Linked DNA regions of Homo sapiens: regions 1 and 2 are each linked to region 3. The links are contacts of gene promoters, found by promoter capture Hi-C in human tissues and cell types (Jung and others, 2019). All regions are on one chromosome and are shown on one strand. Each heading gives the region's core, a stretch centred on a gene start or on the middle of the fragment in contact. The rest is flanking DNA. Distances are from core to core; before and after follow the strand shown. Region 1 has its middle 4.6 kb from the start of UBE2Q2. Region 2 has its middle 33 kb from the start of UBE2Q2. Region 3 holds the start of SNUPN (snurportin 1).

What was found. Contacts are between HindIII fragments. The study calls those that stand out against the background at their distance.
Region 1: a contact is called between a fragment that was not itself captured here and the fragment with the promoter of SNUPN in region 3, in 3 of the 25 tissues and cell types used here (IMR-90 fibroblasts, dorsolateral prefrontal cortex and spleen).
Region 2: a contact is called between a fragment that was not itself captured here and the fragment with the promoter of SNUPN in region 3, in 1 of the 25 tissues and cell types used here (mesenchymal stem cells).

The regions. Positions count from the first base shown.
Region 1 is chr15:75,836,508-75,841,285 of GRCh38, reverse strand. No RefSeq gene overlaps it. Among named protein-coding and RNA genes, the nearest start is that of UBE2Q2, 4.6 kb to the left of the region's middle. The HindIII fragment of the contact is 6,022 bases long and covers 1-4,778 here.
Region 2 is chr15:75,808,575-75,813,124 of GRCh38, reverse strand. No RefSeq gene overlaps it. Among named protein-coding and RNA genes, the nearest start is that of UBE2Q2, 33 kb to the left of the region's middle. The HindIII fragment of the contact is 6,763 bases long and covers 1-4,550 here.
Region 3 is chr15:75,622,965-75,627,345 of GRCh38, reverse strand. It overlaps SNUPN (snurportin 1), which reads left to right and starts at 1,621. Exons shown (of 9, transcript NM_005701.4): 1 at 1,621-1,680. RefSeq lists an enhancer at 1,253-1,442 and a silencer at 2,093-2,142. The HindIII fragment of the contact is 13,243 bases long and covers 1-4,381 here.

The DNA of each region.
Region 1 (4,778 bases), core at 1,022-3,521, 210 kb before region 3:
TATATACAAATATTAATTTCACAGTCGCTTTTTGAGCATCCATCTGCTGCATGCCAAGCTGTAAGAGGGCTAGAAAGATACATAGATACAGTCCCTGATTTTAAGAAGCTTAACATTTAGCATCAAAAACAAAATATTGTTTCCTGATGCTTTTGGCTGCAAATAATAGAAAACTGTGATTTAATCTGCCTTGGACAATAAGGAAATAAATTACTTCACATAATAGGAAGTCCAAAGACAGAACAGTCTCCAGGATTGGTTGACCTGAGCTTTCATGTCATCAAAAGTCCAAATTCTTTCCATCTCTTTTGTTGGGTTGAGAGCAAGGTGGCTGTAGCTGTTCTTGCAGTTCACATCCAGACATGAAAATATCCAGAGGCAGAAAGGACATTTTCTTCTATGTTTCCTTCTAACACATGGGAAGCTTTCCAAGAATCTTCCCAGCAGACTTCCCTTAGTGTGTCCTTGGCCAGAAGTGTGTCACATGCCCACCCCTAACCAATCACAGAGAAGTAGATGGGATTACTCTGGATTTCCAACCTGCTGGGATGGAATGGTTGCTGGGGAGTCACCATAGTCTTACACAGACAAGTAAAGACAACATCAGATCATATGTGATATGAGGTTCAAACTACTGAACTACATTTCAGGGGAGGAAGAAACTAATTCCATGAATTATTTGCATGAAAGTAGGGCCATATTCAGAGGATATTCAAGAGCCCATTTGATTGTAGAGTACAGCAAGGGGCCAAGAGAAAGATAAAGTTGAGATATTACTTTTGATCAGATTTTGAGCCCTGAAATACCATGCCACAGACTATAGTATAATAGTTTCATTTGGTGAGAGGCATCACTTTTTTTTTTTTTTCGAGATGGAGTCTCGCTCTGTCACCAGGCTGGAGTGCAGTGGCACAATCTCAGCTCACTGTAGCCTCTGCCTCCTGGGTTCAAGTGATTCTCCTGCCTCAGCTTCCCGAGTAGCTGGGACTACAGGCATGCACCACCGTGTCCAGCTAATTTTTGTATTTTCACTAGAGACAGCGTTTCACTATGTTAGCCAGGATGGTCTCGATCTCCTGACCTCATGATCTGCCCGCTTTGGCCTCCCAAAATTCTGGGATTACAGGCGTGAGCCACCGCGCCTGGACAAAAGTCATCACTTTTTTTTTCTTTTTTTTTTTTTTGAGATGGATTCTCGCTCTGTCGCCCAGGCTGGAGTGCAGTAGCACGATCTTGGCTCACTGCAAGCTCTGCCTCCCGGGTTCATGCCGTTCTCCTGCCTCAACCTCCCAAGTAGCTGGGACTACAGGTGCCCGCCACCACGCCCAGCTAATTTTTTGTATTTTTAGTAGAGACAGGGTTTCACTGGAGTAATCACTTTTAAGATTAATCTGGGCCAGGTACAGTGGCTCATACCTGTAATCCCAGCACTCTGGGAGGCTGAGGCAGACGGATTGCTTGAGTCCAGGAGTTCGAGACCAGCCTGGCCAACATGGCGAAAACCCATCTCTACTAAAAATACAAAAAATTAACAAGGCATGGTGGCACGTGCCTGTAGTCCAGCTACTCGGGGGGTGAGGTGGGAGAATCACCGGAGCCCAGGGGGTCGAGGCTGCAGTGAGTCAAGATTGCACCACTGCACTCCAACCTGGGCAACCAGAGTGAGACCCTGTTTCAAAACAAAACAAAAACAAAAAAAAAAACAAAAAAAGAAAGATTAATCTGGCATTCATATATAAAATGGATTATAGTGGGCTTAGAAGTATGCAGCCACCGAAAAGAAGCAAGAGACCTGGATTCTACATCTGGCCTGCCATTAATTCAATGGGGCAAGTCATACTCAGCTCTGAGGCTCCTTAGCTGCAAACAATGAAGAGCCTTTGAATCAGTCTGAGTCAAGAGTGAAAAAAATTGAAGTACGGGAAATGGCAGTAGAAAGAACCACACTAGGGAATCAGTGTGGAGTAGAACTGCTAGATCTTAGAAATGACGGGAGGATAGAAGGAGAGAGGGGAAATTTGTTTAAAGTAACACTTTGAAATTTCTAGAGCAGATGGCAGGGAGGGAGTGATGCCATTGACACATCAAGAAAAAGATGTTGAATTTGGTGTGCTGATGGAACGTAGGTAGAGAGTTTGTATCTTAAGTTTGAAGTTTATGAGGGAAGTCAGAGCAAAGGACACATAATTGGGTCAGCCACACAGGTGGGTGATGGTGGAAGCCATGCCATAGGTGTGATCATTGAGTCACAAGGGAGGGAAGACAACCTGGGATGTTGAAGGGACCCTGAGGAAGGCTCACCATTGGTGCTTGAGTGGGAAAAGAGTCATTTGAAGAAGTCAGAGGATGACTCATGTTGAATTTTTATGGAAGGGACAAGTTAGTTCAGGACCAAGAAAAGGCCATAGGCTTTAGGGATTAGAAGGTCAGTGGTGCTTCAGAGAAAACCATTGCAATAGCATGGTGGGCATGAGGTCAAAGTGATGTTAAAGTGAAGAGAATGTACCTAGTCTACTTTCTTGAAAAGTTTCAGGGTGTTGAGAAAGAGAAATGGAATAATGGTTTGCAATAGCAAAGCAAAGGGAAGCTTTTGTGTTTGGTTAGGTTTTTATTATAGGACAGACAGAGATGGACTCACTATGAAATAAGCTTCAGGGCCCCTCGCAGTTACACAGCCCCCTTCTAAGTAAGTATTAACTTTTCCCCCTTAATTTGATATTTGTAATTTTGTATTTTTTTTTGAAGAAGAAGAAGACTCCCAAGATTAAATAAGCTTTAGGCCCTGAAAACCCTGGATCTACCTCTAAGGAGAGAACCATTAACAGGCAATGAAGACTGGATACGAGAGAGGAGAAAAAGCATGCTACTGGGTCCTGGAAGGGAAGAGAAAACATGGGATAAAGAGTTACTCATAGAAAGGAATGCCCCCTCCATAGAGGATAGGGTTGGGGGAGAGAATTGGGGAAGACACAAAGAAATGTTGAGTTAGACTAGAGAGTTGTTGAGAGACCTCATACTGAATGGATAACATGAATTTCAGCAAAACAAGATTGGGGATTAGTACGATAGATAAAAACAGAAGCCAGAGGACAAAGAAGTACTAAAAAAAAAAAAATCTGCTTGAAAACTCTGATCTTGGAGTCTCATCTAGAAGTGCATAAAGGACCGTGAGACTAGGATGGGTTGGGAGGCTGGAAGTCTCCAGGAAGACAGAGCAGGTTCAGTGTGAAAGGAAATATGAGAGCTGCCACAGCCTGCACAGTGGAAGAATTTCAGACTTCAAGAACTTGAATGCATGCAGCCATAAACAAAGAACAAGATCATGTCTTTTGCAGGAACATGGATGGAGCTGGAGGCCATTATCCTTAGCAAACTAATGCAGGAACAGAAAACCAAATACCGCATGTTCCCACTTATAAGTGGGAGCTAAATGATAAGAACACATGGACACAAAGAAGGGAACAAAAGACACTGGGGTCTACTTGAGAGTGAAGGGTGGGAGGAGAAAGAGGAGCCAAAAATATAACTATTAGGTACTGGGTTTAATACCTGGGTGATGAAATAATCTGTACAATAAACCCTATGACATGAGTTTACCTATGTAACACACCTTCACATGTACTCCTGAACCTTAAATAAAAGATTTTTTTAAAAAAAGAACATGAATGTGGAAGAATGCCCAATTATATGTTCCATGCTATTCTGGTCTAACATATTCTTTAAGGCCGTGTTCAAATGCCATCTCCTTCAGTGAGCCTTCCCTAGTCCCCTATATTGAATTTTAGTCCCTCCTTTTCCTGAATTTCCCAGTACCTTGTCTATTACAGCACTTATTTAACTCTGCCTTTGTTATGACTAGCTGGTTTCTCATTTGTCTCCTCTGCGAGATTATGAACAACTTGTCCTAATCCTCTTCATGTCTGTAGCACATAGCCTGGTTCCTGGGACATAGAAAGCACCCACTAAATGATCGTTACGTGAATATAGCCTACTGAAGGTGAAACCCATGTAACATCCTTACTTAGAAAGACTGCAAGTAAATTGTGAGAGAAGTGATCTAGTTTGACTAAAATGTCAGGGAAGTGGTGAGGACCTCTCCCTGTCTAAAGTGAGCACACATCAGCATGTGGCCACTAGGCCCAGACAACCACAGCACTACCCAGGAGGCACAGGAAACTGAGCCCATCCCTGTTGAAATGAACAAGTGACTCATTATTCAACTGCAGCCAACTCAGCCAGAAAGTTTTTCTAAGCTACAATTTTCACAAGTTTGGACTCTGGCTTATAACAAAACTCCTATCTTTGATTTTAGTTTTAGTTAGCAACACTCATCATTTCTCTCTTGCCTGTATTATAAAGGGCTTTCAGACCAAGATGTAAACACCTTGAAGTGGTATGAATTTGGGATATATGCATATGAATGTTATTCTGGGGAGAAGATCTAAAGCACCACTGTCCAATAGAACTTTCTGCAATGATGGAAAGGTTCTATGCCTGCCACAATATGGTAGCCACTAGCCTCAGGTGGTTACTGAGCACTTGAAAAGTGGTTAGTGTGACTAAGGAACTGAATTTTGTATATGTGCTGTCTAAGCAAGCACTGAGGAACTGAATTTTGATTTTATTTAATTGTAATTAATTTAAATTTAAGTAGCCACGTGTGACTGCTGCCTACCATATTGGATAGCACAACACTAGATAATTCTATCATTTTATAATAATATCACATAGAGCTTGATATAGCCATGTCCATCCTTCCTTACCCCTTGAGAGCAGTG
Region 2 (4,550 bases), core at 776-3,275, 190 kb before region 3:
GAAAACTTCTGTATGTTACAAAACACCAGAAAAACAAATGAAAAGACAGAAGAAATTATTGAGAAAAACAAATTTGCAATGAATAGAACAATTTTGCAAGAATAGAACAAATTTGCAATGAATAGAACAATTTTTCTTTATACCTTCTGTACAGTACTGAGCATCATGCTTAGAAAGTCCTTCATAATCCCCAAGATCATGTAAATATTCTTTTTTTATGTTTTCTCCTAGTTAGTATGTTTACAGTTTTATTTGTTAACATCTTTACAACAACTGGAATTCATTTCTGGCATGAGGTTTAAAGTAGTAATGATTCTAACTTAATTTTTTTCCAGGTAGTTAATTAATTGCTCTAACAAAACTTATTGAATAATTCTTCTTTGCTCAAGAGGTCTTAATGCCACCTTTATCACACGCTAAAACAATATATTCTTATAAAAATTCAGGTTTGTGGCCAGGCGTGCTGGCTCATGTCTGTAATCCTAGCACTTTGGGAGGCCGAGGTGGGTGGATCATGAGGTCAGGAGTTCAAGACCAGCCTGGCCAAGATGGTGAAACCTCATCTCTACTAAAAATATAAAAATTAGCTGGGCGTAGTGGCAGGCACCTGTAATCCCAGCTACTCAGGAGGCTGAGACAGGAGAATTGCTTGAACCCAGGCAGCAGAGGTTGCAGTGAGCCAAGATCACACCACTGCACTCCAGCCTGAGTAATAGAGTGAGACTCCATCTCCAAAAAAAAGAAAAGAAAAACCTTCAGGTTTGTTTCTGGACTTCCTATTCTGTTCCATGATTTCTGATCTCTTCTGAATTCTAAAGCTGTTCTATTCCAACAAGGGTCCCCAAATTCTCAGAAATAGAGTTTGCATTGCTTTGGCGATCTCTGTTCAAATTCTTATCTCTTATGTTAGACTGTGAGTTCCCTGAGGGAAGGGTCCTGTCTCACTCCTCTGTGTACCCCAAGAGCCTAGTGTGGTATAATGAAGGAAGGGCACAACAGCACCACGGTGAAGTGAGGAAGCCCCAAGCTTAGGGGCACCAGATTGAGCAAAGAAAACTATAGGATATGCAGTTAACCTACAATATCAGATAAACAGCAAATAGTTTTTTTGTATGAGTATATCCCATGCAATGTTTGGGATATACTTATCCTAAAAGTTATCCAGACATCTCCACTGAAACACTCATCCTCCTCAGACCTCACACCCCTGCTTACCATGAGATCCAAGCTGGAAAACCAGGAATGCATTTTTTACATGCCAAATGCCACAGCTCAAGTTAGAAGCACCCAACTGACTGGGTGTGAGAGTGGGGAATATGGCCTCCTATGCCTGCAGAGGCAGCGTCCCATGCCAAGAAGGGACTGACTCACTGCTGTTCCTCCATAAGGCTCGCTGCCACAACCACTTGCACCATGCGCCATGTCCCTGTCCCATATCCCCATTCCCCAGAGGCCTTGAGCCAAGTGGAGCAGGGCAGACACTGTATGATCCCACAGCTGACTGTTCATAGTCTCTAACCTTTCCTTCTCTTATAAAAGGAAAACAGGGCACTCCTCTGATGCCACCCAGCATGTGATACCCGCCTGGACACATCCAGGAAACACTCAAGCCATGCTGGGGAGGCAGTCATCCTGTTTCTCATGTTTATCCACACACTTCCACAGGGGCTGCAAGTCTACACAACCTAGACACTTGGTCCAAATGGCCCCTAGTTTGTGCCAGGCACAGTGCTAAGCATTTGGGTTACAACGATGAACAAAAACTGGCCTGGTCCTTGATGTTATGGAGCTTACAGTCTAGTAGGGGAGATGGCCATAAATCACGTGATCAAAATTTATTTAATTGAAAAAGTATAAAGAGATATAAGAGCATATAGTGAGGGACCTAATCTGATGGGGTGGGTAGTCAACACCCCAAATAAGGGATATTTGAGAAGGCATTCACTGTCAAAGAGAAGTGTTTCTGGCAGAGAGAACAGCATGTGCAAAGGTCCTGAGGTAGGAGGGAGGGAACCCTCAGGGATCTGAGGTGATAGAGGGAGTAAGAGAGAAAGAATGAAGCAAAAGGTGGCTGCAGAGGCAGGCAGGGGCCAGATCCTGCAGGCCAAGGGTGAGTCAAAGCCATTGCAGAATTTAGCAAGAGAGTGACTTAATAATATTGGGCTTTTAAAGATGAATATGGCTGCAATACCAGAATGGCTGGTTGGAAGAGGCCAAAGTGGAAGCTACTGGGGATGTCTGTGTAAGAGCTGACAGTGACCTTGTGGTGGAAATGGGGCACAAGAGAGGGAGACTGTGCTGGGCTTCATCATGGTTGAATGCAGGAGAGAAAGGAAGTATCAGGGAGATGCTGGCACAACCAGGGAAGACTTTCATCACCCACTGGGTACGGGGGAGGGTGGTTAACCTGTGGGGAGAAGCAGGGCACTTATCCAGGGTGGAAAAGAGAGAGAGTGAGGAGAAGGAGCAGGAGTAAGAGAGCTAAAGCTGAGAACTCAAAGGACCAAGGAGAAGCTACAGGGCCAGCTCACAGAAATGGCGCGGAAGGAACTCACTTGTTGCCCCAGCTTTCTCTCATTTCAGTCTCAAAGAGATCTTGCCGGTTAGGCGGACACTTTCTCCACTTCGCAGGGTAACCAACTATGGATCAGATCTTCTTCTGACATCACAGAGCTGGGACTTGAATGCAAGTCTGTGTAACTACAAAGCCCACACTCTGCTCTCTGCCAGGAGCCCCACTCCTGCCCCGATCCCTGGGCCGATGAGTTATATCGAGGCCTATAGCCAAAATGAAGGCTCAAAGATTCCCCAGCAGGGGAAGAAAGTGGCTGGGTGGGAGGGCTAATTCTCAATTCCTGTAGTTCATTCAGATCCTGGAGCCTGGGGGAATATGGGAAAACCAAGGCAGACACAACGTGGAGAAAGCAAAGGTCAGTATTTCTCTACCCTGGCTGCACAGTGCCATCATCAGGTGAGCTGTGAAAATTCCTGGTGCCCAGGCCATCCCCCACCAATTAGCTCAGAATCTCTAGGGTGGGGCTTGGGCATCAGAATGTTTTCAAGCTCTCCAGGTGATGCCAAGCTCTCCAGGTGCAGCCAGGTTGAGAACCATGGGCATATCAGCCCCTCTCCTGAGACCTACTCTATCTCAGTCTAGACTTATCTTGGAAGGGCCTCCCATAACTGTATTTGGGGCCACACTGCCCAGGATCCCAGCCTAATCTGAGTTTAGGTCCTAATTAAGATCTTTAGAGACCCAAGACACTGCAAAATTATTGTGCAGAGCTCCTCTCTTTCTTTTCTTTCTTTCTTTCTTTCATTCATTCGTTCTTTCTTTCTTCTTTCATTTTCTTTCTTTCTTTGCCTTTCTTTCTTCCTTTTCCTTTTTTTTTTTTTTTTTTTTTTTGAGACAGTTTCTCTCTGTCATCAGGCTGGAGTGCAAAGATGCGATCACAGCTCACTGCAGCGTCAACTTACCAGACTCAGATGAATCTCCCACCTCAGTCTCCTGCACAGCTGGGACCATAGGCACATACCACCACATCTGGCTAATTTTTGTATTTTTTGTAGAGATGGGGTTTCACCAAGTTGCCCAGGATGATCTTAAACTCTTGGGCTCAAGCAATCCTCTGCCTCAGCCTCCCAAAGTGCTGGGATTACAGGCATAAGCCACCACACTCAGCTCCCCTTTTTCTTAAGTAATTCTAAATAAAAACAAGACTAAATTATAAAATAAAATTTGACATGGGCATTTTTGGAGAAATGACACAAAACTTCCATGATAGCTGAAATTAAAATATTTATTTTTGGATTTTCTATTTGTGTGTGCACACAGGTACACACTTGTCCTTGGTTGGTGCCCTATGTGTGTACTTGCTCTATGTAGTAGGTTAATCTGCACAGAGTCTGAAGGCACAATTTTCAGTAAACGAAAGCTCTACATAGCACAATTTCCAAGCAGTTGAGACTGAAGCAGCAGTCTCCTTCTGGGTTTAATTTGAATTAACTCATTATGTCAGAGGTTGCAAATGTTTTTCTGTGAAAAATCAGACCTTGGCGATGACACTGAGCAGTAGGATATAAATAACTCCACAAGCTTAGCGTTCCAGTAATGGAACGCTAAGCATAAATGTGTAAACTGCCAGGATGTACTTGTGCAGGAAACTGACAATTTTCAGCAAGAAATCTTCAGATGAGGCTTGTCACTCTCCAGTGTAACTCTAGGGCCTGCTTGGCAGGGGGACCAGCTTTGGCTGGAGGCTGGGTCAAAACGGCGGCCCTGGGATGGCACCTTCCCATCCCATGGAGGGAGCTCTGTTGGGAACATGAGACAGACCAAGAAGACTCATCCATTAGGAAAGCGGCCCTTGGCCTGTCCGGTTTTAATGGAGGAGGGTGCTTGGTGCAATGACCACTTCTGATGGGGAAACTAGTTGAAGACATGGGCATTGTCTTTCCCATGTGTGCCCCACTGGGAGCCTAAACTTGATGGGTGAAAAGTTCCAAGAGATGAATCAAGAGCACTATATATATCTCGGCCGTCCAGGCTG
Region 3 (4,381 bases), core at 372-2,871:
CATAAATCAGGCAGACATGAGCTTTTATTTGTGGATGCACCAAATAAATACCCTAGTGGACAGCTTTGCTCAGCCTGGCCACTGAAAGAGCCACCTAAATAAAATCTCAGGTCCAGGCCGGGTGCGGTGGCTCACGCCTTTAATCCCAGCACTTTGGGAGGCCGAGGCGGGCAGATCATGAGGTCAGGAGATCGAGACCATCCTGGCTAACACAGTGAAACCCCGTCTCTACTAAAAATACAAAAAAATTAGCCGGGCATGGTGGCAGGCGCCTGTAGTCCCAGCTACTCAGTAGGCTGAGGCAGGAGAATGGCGTGAACCCGGGAGGCGGAGCTTGCAGTGAGCGGAGATTGCGCCACTGCACTCCAGAGCCTGGGCGACAGAGCGAGACTCCATCTCAAAAAAATAAAAAAAAATCTCACGTCCAGAAAAATTGGCCTTCCAGGGCCCCAGAACCCTTTTTACCAGTCTAGTAATAGCCTTTCATCAGCCTAATTTCCTATTCTTTTTAGTCTGAATGTATGGTGTAATGTGCATAAAATACACAAGTCCAAATTTTAGCATTCCGTGGACGCAAAATGTGCCAAAGGTGGATACTTTGCTTCTGTCATACATCGGTAGTCAACTTCCCTATACATCAAACTTTCAGCAAATTCAAACATTTTCCTTGAAAGCTGTGTTACTTTGGCCAAATTACTTAACCTCTCTGAGCTTCAGTGTGTCTACTTCCTCATGTCATGATTAAGAGTTAATATCTACTGGCTTAAAAAAGAAAAAAAAGGAAAAAAATTAAATGAGATGATGGGTGTGAAGCAGGGATTGGCTGAATGTAAGCATTCAATAAATATTCAGTTTTAAAATTGTAATCTCAGCCTTCCCGCCCTGCAGAGGCTACACCCTGGCAGGACTTAATCTCCTAAATCTCTGCCGCTTACCCTAGTCTTTTGCACCAATTTAATCATTCCTTCACGCAGGGTCTACTGAGCGCCATCCCTTGTGCTGGACTCTGGCTACTTAAATAGGAATCAAGCCAGGTCCCTACCATTGCTCAGCCCGCAGCCGAGTGGGAAAGAAGCTCGCAAAAGCAGCAAACAGGCAGTAATCGAGGTATGTATCTGCTTTTGTTAAGGGCAAGTGGGGGAGCGAAGGTCTGTGTCTGAAACTTGGGTGTGAGGGGTTAGTTGGAGTAATCCAGGCAATTGGCACTGCCCGTTTAAGAGCACGGGCCCAAGAGGGGAAGGGGACTCCAGGTGAAGCCCTAAGGCCCGGGAAGATCTGCGGGAGGCGGCAGGGCCCAGGGCGTTGAATGCCCGGCCACAAGATCAGCCTCCTCCCATTGGCGAAAGGAGCCCCGAAGAGCTTGTGTTCAGGAGGGAGGCCTCGGCCTGGTCAAGTCATCTAGCAGGAAGAGTCCCGGACAGTGCAAAGCAAATGCAAGAAGACCCCCTCCCTAGCCGATGGGAAATGCCCCAGCCGTTGAAGGCGGAAATAACGGCCTGTAGGCAACGGAACTCCCAGCGTTCGCAAAGGAGGGAGGAGCCGGAAACTCAGGGCGCGAGGCCTGTGGGCCCAGCGGTGAGGCAGCAGCTGGGGGCGGGGGGAGGGCGGACCTAGCTTCCCAGGGCAGGTGATTCGTCGGCCCCGGTGGCGGCGGCGCGTGCGACGGTCACCTCGGTTTGGGTGAGTCCCTGGGTTCGAGCCCGGGCCCCGCCAGCTGCCGAGTTGCCTCTCGGTGCCGGACTGTGACTCCCTCTGGCCGGCCCTGCACTCTGGCCTCCTGGGACGTCATCTGGAGGGATAGAGCCAGGCCTGGGACTCCTTTTGGGAGAGTTTCCGTTCTTCTATTCCGTGCTGTCCGGCCAGGACCCCTCAGGGACTTCTGTGGGGCAGGGGCGAATCATGCATGGCCTAGATGACCCCATGCCTAGAAAAAGGCAGTGCGGGGCGGTGGCGGCGCGCACGGCCGAGTGAAGCAGATAGCGTCCCCGGGGCTGGAGCCCGGTAGCAGGGGTAGGGAAACGCGGAGGCTGCCAGGATGCGGACCCAGGGGACGCGAGGCGGGGGCGCCGGATGGGGAGACGCGAAGGAGGGGGAAGGGGATGGGGGAGGGGGCTAGACAGGGAGGGAGGGTGGAGCGTGGGCGGGGCCTGGGGCGGGTCGGACTTTAGGGAGTTGGAGCGGGGGTTACTGGTGCTAAGACCACCTGGGGCTAAGGTCCGAACACTTGGAGGCAGCACCATCCAAGGAATGGGTTGAAACAGCAGGAGCCCGGCGGGGCGCAGTGGCTCACGCCTGTAATCCCAGCACTTTGGGAGGCCGAGGTGGGCGGATCACCTGAGGTCAGGAGTTTGAGACCAGCCTGACCAACATGGTGAAACCCCATCTGTACTAAAAATACAAAAAAAATTAGCCGGGCGTTGTGGCGCGTGCCTGTAATCCCAGCTACTCGGGAGGCTGAGGCAGGAGAATCGCTTGAATCCGGGAGATGGAGGTTGCAGTGAGCCGAGATCATGCCACTGCACTCCAGCCTGGGCAACAAGAGCGAAACTCTGTCTCAAAAAAAAAACAACAACAACAAAGAAAAAACAAAACGAAACAGCAGGAACCCGCCAAGAACAGCCTTGAAGGAAGGTAAAGGAACCGCCCCAGTATCCAGGACATCAGTTTTTCTTTTTTTTTTCTTTTTGAGACGAAGTCCAGGCTGGAGTGCAGTGGCACGATCTCGACTCACTGCAAGCTCCGCCTTACGGGTTCAAGCCATTCTCCTGCCTCAGCCTCCCGAGCATCTGGGACTACAGGCGCCCGTCACCATGCCTGGCTAATTTTTTTGTATTTTTTTTTTTTTTTTTAGTAGAGACGGGGTTTCACTGTGTTAGCCAGGATGGTCTCGATCTCCTAACCTCAGGTGATCTGCCCGCTTCAACCTCCCAAAGTGCTGGGATTACAGGCGTGAGCCACCGCGCCAGGCCCAGGACATCAGTTTCAAAGGTTGTGTGGTTCTTGGCAGAGCGGGAGCCCACACCAAGATAGTGCATGATAGGCCTAATAAAGGTGCTTTGGATTTGGTCATTACTTTGGTGATGAACTGAAAACATAATGACTTTTTAAAAATTTTTATCGGCCGGGCGCGGTGGCTCACGCCTGTAATCCCAGCACTTTGGGAGGCCGAGGCGGGCGGATCACGAGGTCAGGAGATCGAGACCATCCCGGCTAAAACGGTGAAACCCCGTCTCTACTGAAAATACAAAAAATTAGCCGGGCGTAGTGGCGGGCGCCTGTAGTCCCAGCTACTTGGGAGGCTGAGGCAGGAGAATGGCGTGAACCCGGGAGGCGGAGCTTGCAGTGAGCCGAGATCCCGCCACTGCACTCCAGCCTGGGCGACAGAGCGAGACTCCGTCTCAAAAAAAAAAAAAAAAAAAATTTTATCATGAAAGCTTTCAAACTTACACAAAAGTACAGAAAAGTAGAGACAATAGCATACATACCATTATGGATGATTTGAATAACATACCATATGGATCCCAAGCACTCATCATGAGGCCTCAGTCACTCAGGAATGGCAACCCTTGGTTGCATTGCAAAGATATTAAGGCACACCTCAAGCCGGGTGCAGTGGCTCATGCTTGTAATTCCAGCACTTTGGGAGGCTGAGGCAGGCAGATCACTTCAGGTCAGGAGTTTCAGACCAGCCACGCCAACATAATGAAACCTCTTCTCTACTAAAAATACAAAAATTAGCCGAGCATGGTGGTGCATGTCTATAATCCCAGCTACTCAGGAGGCTGAGGCAGGAGAGTTACTTGAACCCAGGAGGTGGAGGCTGCAGTGAGCCGAGATCACACCACTGTAGTCCAGCCTGGGAGACAAAGTGAGACCCTGTCTCAAAAAAAAAAAAAAGGCCGGGCGTGGTGGCTCACACCTGTAATCCCAGCACTTTGGGAGGCCAAGGTGGGCAGATCAGGAGGTCGGGAGATCGAGACCATCCTGGCTAACACGGTGAAACCCCGTCTCTACTAAAAAATACAAAAACAAAATTAGCCGGGCGTGGTGGCGGGCGCCTGTAATCCCAGCTACGCGGGAGGCTGAGGCAGGAGAATCACTTGAACCTGGGAGGCGGAGGTTGTGGTGAGCCAAGATCGTGCCATTGTGCTCCAGCCTGGGCAACAAGAGTGAAACTCTGTCTCAAAAAAAAAAAAGTTTCTTTTATGTTTAAAGGTTACAGAGGTTCAGTTATTCAAGATAAAAGGAGTTCTGGAGAGTTCTGCACAGCAGTGTTGAACATACTTAACTTTACAGAACTGTACACCTACAAATGGTTAAGATGATGAATTTCATGATATGTGTATTTAGCCACAATTTTTTTTTCTTTTTACAGACAAGG